Regions from separate parts of the Homo sapiens genome. Here region 1 is linked to region 2. Evidence: promoter capture Hi-C in 16 types of primary human blood cells and fetal thymus (Javierre and others, 2016). All regions are on one chromosome and are shown on one strand. The core of a region is centred on a gene start or on the middle of the fragment in contact, and the rest is flanking DNA. Distances in the headings are between cores, read along the strand shown. Region 1 overlaps BBX (BBX high mobility group box domain containing). Region 2 holds the start of IFT57 (intraflagellar transport 57).

Region 1 (4,716 bases), core at 982-3,481, 550 kb before region 2:
CGCTAGTAATGACTTTGGGACTCTGGACATTTAGCTGGATGACTGATCCCAGTGTATTGTTGCCAAGTGAAGGGAAGACATTGAGGCGTGCGATGCGTAGAATTGCTTTGACTCACTTCTTTCCCCTGGCAGCGGTTGCAGCCTGGCGGCAGCAGTACCAAATCTGTGTACTTGCATGTTTGAAAGCTGCTTTTCTTAGGCTCCCACAGCAGTTTGTATAGAAGAGGAGCCAAAGTAAGACATCTAAAGAGACTTTCTCAAAAGCAATTCACATGTGATCTTACAAAGAACTCCTTTTAGATTTGGTCCTATCACTACACTCCTCAGACTTCTGTTAAAGCCTTTGCTAAGAGGTAGTGTTAGGGCAAGGCCTGGTAAGTTCTATTGTGTTGAATTTGTTGCAGAGTGTTTTTAAGAAGTAACAGGCTTAGAGTAATTTAGAATGTAGGGGCCAGCCATCTCCAGACACGAAAGAGGGAACCTGAGATTGACAGGTTAGATGATTTAGCTAAGGCATGCTCCTGCTTACAGAGTCCAAGTTTTCAGACTTCCATTTATGTGTGCATTTATTATGTCAGAATATGGTTTATGAATTGTAAGAAATAAGTTGCAGAAGAAAGAAAGGACATTTTAACTATACCATAAATGGTGTCAACTGCCATTAATCTGATAGGAAGATCCAGATTAAAGTTTCAGACCCTGGAGACTGGAAAGGGTTCAGAGCTGAAAGAATGTATAGTGTATCTGTCCTTACTCTGTGATATGATGAGAGGCAAAAGATGGCAGTTTTGACGGAAATCAGAGCTTTTCTTCTCAGATACTGAGGGTTAGTTTGTGAACTTCTGTTTTTTGGCCATCATGTTTTGAGCACCTGCGGAGGAAATCGTGCTCCCTCAGCCTCAGCTAGTTTAAGGACTGTGCTGATGGGAAGCAGAAGCAGCTCCTTGTGCCCTCTTAGTAAACAACACAGATTCTCACTTCAATAACTGATGAGTCTGTTCTGTTGTCTCTCAGTCCCCTTGTCAAAACCACTGATCTGGATTGCTCTACAGAAGCTGCTTTGCCCCTCTCTTCTCATGATCATGGAGGAGCTCAGTTTTAATACCGTCGTTTGTGTCTGATACACTTAGGCAGCAGTTCCCTCATGGACCTTTTAGATCAAAAATGAAACTATAGTACCTTAAGAAGCTTTTAAAGGAGACATTCTGTTACTATTTGGGGAAGAATAAAAAGGCAGTATGATATAGCGGAAAGAGTTCTGATTTTGTGGTCAAGAGACCCAGAGCTTAACTCTGCCACTAATTGGTTTGGTGAACTTGAGCTAACCTTTAACTCCTGTGGGTCTTTTTATTGTCATCTGTGAATTGGGGGACAAGATGATCTCCAGGGGCTGGATTTGCAGTCCCTATCAAGTCTATATTGAAGGGTTTCATTTTTAGAAGAGTAGCTCTTTAAACTATCCTATAAATTAAATATGACACCAGAAATAGCAGTGACAAATGGAGAATTTTCCTAGGGAAGCCAGTTATGATAGGCTACAGAAAACTTTTTAAAATAAAAACTTTTTATTATCACACAGTAGGAATGCCCTCCAAATAAATTGATAATTTCTGTTTTACAATGTGGGAATCTGAAAATATCTAGAAAATTAGAAGCTTTTAAAAAAAATTATAGAATCTGCTTCCAAAGATCAAAAGAAAACAAAACAATGAGTCTATAACTAAGGTAATTTAGATAGATGTGGATTTCATCTGATTAAGTTTAATTATAAATTGTATCTGAATTATCATAGACTAATACTATAAATAAACATTTGGTTGGATATCAGTCTTCCATTTTGCCTTATGTATTTATGCTACATTAATTGGTTTCATTAATACCATTTAATTGATCATAACTTGTGTTACTGCCACCCTGATGGTAAAAGGAGCCTTTACAGCTGTGTACATGTAGGGACATGGTACCACTTTCACAGCTTTGCTGGAAACACTATACTGATTTCTAAATATCAGACATAGCTTATTTAGAACAAGTGAGTTTGTTTTCATAAAATGTAGGGCAGCAGTAACAGTAATTACTGTCCTGATATAATGATGCTAATCTTTTATCATCATCATCTGAAGTGAATGATAAAAGCATGTTAAATTGAATCTCCTTTCTAACTTGTGTTATGCAGCCATTATAGGTCCTGGACCACTTAGGAGATAACTGGGCTGTTCCTTATTCTTTGTGGTAGTGGCAGATATTCAACTTGAGATTTAAAATCAATATTACCAGTCAGAGTTGTGTGTGTTTAAAATATGTTGTCCACCAGCTCAGACCAGTAATTGGTGAGAAAGCGGTGTAAGGGATAGGTGTTTTTTCATGCAGAATAGCTTTTTAAAAGATCATTTCATCAAGATTTAAATGTAAGCAAGCAGAGAAATTTTATAAAAACATCCACTAGATGGCATCTTGTAATTGTGTTTAGCATTATCCTGAAGCATTCTTGACTAGAGGGTATAATTGGAACAGGTTTTTATTTTTTTCTCTGAAGGTTGGTTGTTCATGAATATATGGATTCATATATACTTTAAAATAATCTTAAGTGAAAAATTTTAACCAGTCATTTTGTCATACTGCCCACTCATCATAGGAAACGTTTCTAGAACATTCCTGATATGTTCTCAAACATAGCATGACATTGGTAACCTGTACTAATAACATTGGGAAACTTGCTTTCATAACCATTTTACATTCTTAATTTTATAAAAATATGGAAAGCATAGAAAACTGGTCCCCTGCTAGAATATCCATTAGTTAGAAAATAAGCTTTGGTATTTTGCTTTGGTAGGGCATTGTGCTTGTGGCAGAGATACAGATTATATTTCTGGTGTGGTTCCAAAGTTCTTTTAAAGTTCTAAGAACCACTGACCTTGATCCTCTGAAAAATTTCTTAGTGTTGAATTTATTTTTCAAATACAGATGCTCTTTGACTTAAAATGGGGCTACATCCTGATACACTCACTGTAAGTTGAAAATATCCTGTCAAAAAATGCGTTTAATACATCTAACCTTCCAAACATCATAACTTAGCTTAGCCTGCCTACATGCTCAGAACAGTTATATTAGCCTACAAGTGGGCAAAATCATCTAACAGAAAGCCTATTTTATGATAGTGTTGCATATCTTATGTAACTTATCGAATACTAAAAGTTTTTCAAGCATGTTTAAGCTAGGTTAGGCTATGATATTCAGTAACTTGGGTATATTAAAGACATTTTCCACTAATTATATTTTTAAGTTACTTGTAAGTTGAGAAACATCTGTATTAACAAGCTAACAATCTTATTCTTAAGTGCATACAAATTTACCAATGATTTGGTTAATCTCTTTAGCCTATTAGTATTTTTAAAAGCTTATTGTTTACGGAACTATAAGTATACCCCAACGTCTTCTTTTTTGATTTTTGAATTATTTGTATTTTAAGTTAAAGAAAAGCTAGAAAATAGAATTACCAAAAAGAAGAAAACCTCATCCATAATTTTATCACAGAGAAATAATGTCGTAAACAATTTAGCATTCATTCTTTCAGGCTTTTTTGGTTTATGTGTATATAAGCACATATTTATTATGTATTTTTTTAAAGGAATCAGGCTCTTATATTCTATGCAACCTTTTTTCCCACTTATCTTCAGTGTCTTTTTATGCCAATAAATGCATTTTCATGGAATTCTTAGTCACTATAAATTGTTACATTTTAACCAAGCTCCTGCTGTTTATATTTTGCCCCCCACCCCCATTTTTTCTCTACCCACAGATTTTTGACATGCAGAGATATTTCTTTACCTAAGGGTATTTAGTGAGGAGAGCACTGGATTAAAGCAGCATAGGTCAACCTAGCACAACATCTGGTTAATAGTAGGTTCTCAATAATATTGAATGAATTTTTTACTTTTTTTGGTTACATGAGTTTAATGGTTAGAAGTTATTATGGGCCTAGCATGGTGGCTCAAGCCTATAATCCCAGCACTTTGGGAGGCAAGCCGAAGCAGGAGGATTGTTTGAGCCCAGGAGTTTGAGATAAGCCTAGGCAACACAGTGAGACCTCGCTTCTGCAAAAATTTGAAACATTAGCTGGGTGTGGTGGTGCACGCCTGTAGTCTCAGCTACTCTAGAGACTGAGGTGGGAAGATCACTTGAGCCCAGAAGGTCAAGCTACAGCAGTGAGCTGTATTTGCACTACTGCACTTCAGCCTCGGCAAGAAGGGCAAGACCGTTTCTCAAGAAGAAAAAAAAAGTTGTTAATTGTAGTTTATTTCAAGTTGACTTGAATGTTTATAGTCCATGATTAATTATGATGATAATGATAGCAAATCTTCATTTGCACTTACTGCAAAGCACTATTCCAAGCAGTGTATGTGTATATAAAAATGGCTTAATCCTCACAATGAAATAGATACTGTTATTATCCTTCCTTTTACAAATGAGGATGCCAAGGCACAGGGAGGTTAGGTTTCTTGCCCAAGATTACACAGTTTGCAGCTAATAATTTATAGATGCGGGTTTACAAATTCAGGAAAAAAGAGAGTTCACAGTTAACATTTGTGTCAAATCGCATGAGATATGAAGCATAGACAAAGTGAAATTAAGCAGGATGGTCTAGGATTTCTTTCAAAGTCATATTTAAGGGCTTCATTAAAAAAAAAAAAAGCCAAAGATTTGTGTAGTTCTTTT
Region 2 (4,463 bases), core at 1,833-4,332:
TTATTAAATTACCAGTATTAAAATTCATAACTTGAGAACAAGGAAAAAGAAGGGTCGTTTACACTTACAAATGACCGAAGCTCGGATAGTATGTTAGATATTGTTGCATTAGGGTCATCATATTCTTGAGGCTGCTCAAAGGGACGTCCCGCTTTATTAATCAACCAAGCAGCAAGAGTACAAAACATGTAGAACTGTTCGCCAGGGTTGGTAGGCAGTGCAAAATAGTGTCTGTTTCAAAACAAGGAGGAATGGGGGCGGATGTGAAATAATGCAAATAAGTCTATAATAACTAATAGGGCCGAATTCACAATTGTCCAACAATCTTTCTTCCCCCCAAATGGCCATCAAAAGACCTCGATAATTCACCCTTTGAAGTTTCCAGTAATCCACAGCACTCACATTGAAGTTTTTAAATCAGCAGGATTAGGGCAATTACTACTGTACCCAAAATATTAGATCAAAGACCTTACACCCAGGAAATGTAGTGCATGTTAGAGCACAGAGCATGTAGAATTTTTGCCAAAATGATTTAAGTGTCAGTAATAATATGTAAGTACCTTATGAATGAAAATGGTAATCTGGAAGAACCTCAGAGTTTAAAAAAGACCTCAACGATTACTCATTATGCATTTTTACTGTTTCTAACCTATCACCTATGGTGAACATTTGTTTCTATGTTGGCTGCATATTCAATCACCTGAGGAGCTAATAAAAATACTGGTACTTGACCAAACATTGCTTCTTCCCTCATGAATGAATTAAATCAGAACTTCAGTGAAAGTAGGCCCAGTATGGGGTATATTTCAAAAGATTTCTACATGTTTATAAGGTGTAGTCAGGATTAAGAACCTGTGAATGTCACATCACCAGTCAAACATCTGTGGGCTCTTGCTTAATCCCCTAGTCTACTAAACACAGTTCTACGAGGATCAGTATGATTTATACCTAAACATTATAGGAATAAAACTCACTAGCAACAACATTCAAGTCAGTTTAATCAAAGATCTTATTTGTCTTGTTCATGTGTAGCTATCATTATTATGTTTACAATGTATTTACAACTATTATAACCATTGTCATAAAAATCTGTCGTGTACTCCTTCATGTTTCCCAAACTTTTTCCTGCAGGATAAATGTAAATGTTCTGGAAGATAACAGAAAGCTGGGAAGAAAAAAGGCCATGAAGTCCTTCCAGGTATATGCTCACTATCCTTTCAAAGCACCCACCCACCAAAAAGTCATCTTTTCCTTATCGGCAGATAACTCTTCTAGGGCAGAGGAATGAACACCAATAGATACTGTAAACCTAGGACAGTGGTTCCCAAACATTAGTGTCCATCAGAATCATCTGGAAGGCTTACTGAAACAGATGCTAGGCCCCATCCCTATAATTACTGAAAAGGTAGACCTGGGAAAGGGCCTGAGGAATTTCATTTCTAGTAAGTTCCCAGGTGATGCTGATGCTGTTGGTCTGGTGATCACATTTTGAGAACCATTGGACTAGGATATCCCCACACAAATCCATGATTCAAAGTATCCTGCTGAACCCCTGAGGACACAGTGCAAGAGATGACATCAACAGAACCTTAAGGACATTTTGTTTTCATTTTAAAAATATACTTGGAAAAAAATGCATTTTTATTAACATAGGAAATGTTGGTTGTCTATATTATCCTGATCAATTCACTTTAAGTAATAATCCCAGGACTACCTTTTCTAACATGGATCAAGCAACACTACTTTTTCCTTTATCTTTTCTCCGACCATGGACTAATTTAATATGAACAGTTTATATCAAGCCTACATATCTTTCAATTCAAGTTATTGGAAGACAGCAGTGGAATGAGATTAAAACTATCAAGGGAAATTATTTGAGCCTGGCTGTAGACATTAAGTACTATAGATTCTTAATACTGATTGCCTTTTATGGAATAAAATATACAAATGTAAGTATTAAAGTGAAAGAAAAGCTATAAAACTGATTTATCTGGCTACTGCTAAGCTACAGTGATTTGAGGAGAAGGTCCTAGCTGACCACTACCCTCAGCAAGTAATGGCATTGCTTTCAGGATATGTTGGACTTTTCCCCCACCGGAACAAGGGTAAAACTTTAGGTTCTATGATAGGGGGACAATTCAATAGTTGTCATTCGTCTTTTCCACTTTTCAGTTTCTGAGAGTATGGTTATTACAAAGGCAGAAGTCTTTTAAACCATAGCAAGTAGTTAACAAGTTTACTAACCGCATTTAAAGTGCTCCTTAACAGGATCCTAAGTACCCACGGTCCCCAGTTGTATGAACAGGGTCTTAAACAACAACAAAAAACCCCAAACTAGAAAAAAAGCCTTAAGTGATAATGGCATTCCTCTCTGGAGGCGAATTTTGGACGGTCTTATAATTTTTCTAGACATTTACTTGTGTTTTTCTGAGTTTTCTTCAATGAGTATTTGTTTCATCTTTACAATCAGAAAATATAGTTTGTGTTTTCTGGTAATGCGTGTGTGTTGGAAAAAAACAGGCAAGCTGTCTTCCGATCCTTTCTGCCGTTCCAAAACTTATTTATTCTCTCTACAAAAATACCAAGTCAGGGCTGCGTGAGCTCCACGGACCTCCCGGGAGTTTGGGGTGAAGTGCCCTTCCCTGGCTAGGAAGACGGAGGCAAGGAATTGCTAACCCGCTCTCACGAAACTGGTTCCCAGCAGGACCAAGGAGGGCATCTCCCTGGGGGCTAGCAGGCACCCGGGCGCTCGGGGACGCCGGCACCCACCTGGACGGGGCCTTCAGGTTGCTCTTCCGGAGGAACTCCTCCTCGTAGCGGAGCAGCTTCAGCTTCTCCACCAAGTCCTCCATCACCACGAACATGTGGTAGGCCGCGCCGGGCCCCCGCTCCAAGACCACTTCCCCGGTCCCTTCGCCACGGGACCTAGGCACCCCATCTTCCAAACCCGACGTCGTGACGACGGCCAGAGCAGCAGTCATCGCAGAACGGACAGAGTCCAGCGTGGGCTCAGGCCCACAGACCTCTGCGGCCTAAGCCGCCAGCCCTGCCGCCGCCAGTACAGCCACGACCGGTTACCAGGCGACCACCGGACAATCCGTCACCAGGGAAACTAGACTCCGCCTCCTTCCCTCCAATCAGGGCGGCTTTCCTGAATGACGTCACCTGTGGCCCTCTTCTTGCCCTGCCTCTGTGGAAATGGTGGTCGGGAAGCAGCCCCGCCCCTCATGGAGGCGTGGCGTTCGCGCCCCACTGCCGGCTGCGTCTTCTCCCTCGCTGAAAGTCTGAAGGGAGCCGGCTTACGTTTCTGCTCCGCTTGCCTAGTGAGTCTTGAGCTGGCTTGAGGTGTGTTGGACCTGGTGGTTGCTAAAAGCAATTAAGCGGGCATCTGGGTCAGCTAGTAGCTGTTAAAAAGATTAAAGGGAGGTGAAGACGTGTAGCACTGAAGGCTGCACTGGCTCACTGATACCTTTATTTTCTCAGAATTGAAAAGTTTTTCATAGTTGTAAAGATAGTCAATACCATAGGTTTCACTTTTACTGCAGGAACTTTCCAACGAGAGGTTTCTCTCGTTCTTTCTTTAATTTTATCTTTCTCTCACTAGGCAATGCTGCACTTAACAGTATATTGTAAAGCTTGAAGTACTGTATTACGTTGCCTGGCTGTTACTCCAGTGCTAGGAAAGTGGTTGGAAGGATGAGGAAGACAATGAACAAAAGGAGGCATTTGGAAGGATTTGTTTTACTTCAAAAACAAGAATACTAAGCTTCCATCCTGCTGCTTAATCTGTTTCAAACCCATTACATGTAGTATAAAGTGTTTGGGTACTTCGTTAAATCCAACAGAATAGAGATGGTCTTAAAAGGAATTTCCCTGCCCTAAAGCTCTAAGGGTGGCTAAAGATAGGGTGTTACTACTGTATTCTGCAGTTATTGACCTAGAAAATTTAAGAAAAGGTACATAACTGACCACAGAAATGGCCCAGCTTTACAGTTTTCAAAAGGCTTCTGTATTAGGCAATTTTCTTAACAGTTGCAAAAAATGAGGTAAGTGGTGGATGCCTGGCAGTTTTTGGGAAGAAAACTTAGTACAAGAGATTGAACATATGTTCATGTTTATAACGTGACTTTTAAGGGCTCTCTGATCTCTTGTATCTGCCACTACAAAATATAGAAGGGCTACATTTTTGGACAACTGAAATTTGAAATGTATCTACAATATCCTGTTTTTATTAGAAAAAATGAGAACACTTTTCATTGTAATCCGTCTACAGCTAACTTGTTTCTGATACTAATAAGGTTATCAAAGTGAAAAGTCAGAAGGGCAAATACCATTTTTTCATTAAAGAAAGGAAGTACATAAAATTACAGACTTATGTAGAGAATAACCTGAAGGGCAGCCCACTGAGAATTGCTTTTTAAATAAATAACATTGCTTGCCTACCACAAGTCATGAGCCAGCTG

The links. Contacts are between HindIII fragments. The CHiCAGO score rates a contact against its expected background, and 5 or more counts as called.
Region 1: a fragment that was not itself captured here is called in contact with the fragment with the promoter of IFT57 in region 2 in 2 of 17 cell types (fetal thymus and M1 macrophages); the score reaches 6.0 in fetal thymus.

Annotation. Positions count from the first base shown.
Region 1 is chr3:107,674,463-107,679,178 of GRCh38, forward strand. The region is part of intron 3 of BBX (BBX high mobility group box domain containing); the gene reads left to right. Among named protein-coding and RNA genes, the nearest start is that of BBX, 150 kb to the left of the region's middle. The HindIII fragment of the contact is 1,156 bases long and covers 1,654-2,809 here.
Region 2 is chr3:108,219,342-108,223,804 of GRCh38, forward strand. IFT57 (intraflagellar transport 57) reads right to left here and starts at 3,083. Exons shown (of 11, transcript NM_018010.4): 1 at 2,770-3,083; 2 at 69-231. The coding sequence starts at 2,981. It overlaps LOC124909405 (a long non-coding RNA gene), which reads left to right and starts at 3,264. Exons shown (of 2, transcript XR_007095999.1): 1 at 3,264-3,345; 2 at 3,605-4,463. RefSeq lists an enhancer at 2,802-3,061 and a silencer at 2,997-3,290. The HindIII fragment of the contact is 9,168 bases long and covers 1-3,633 here.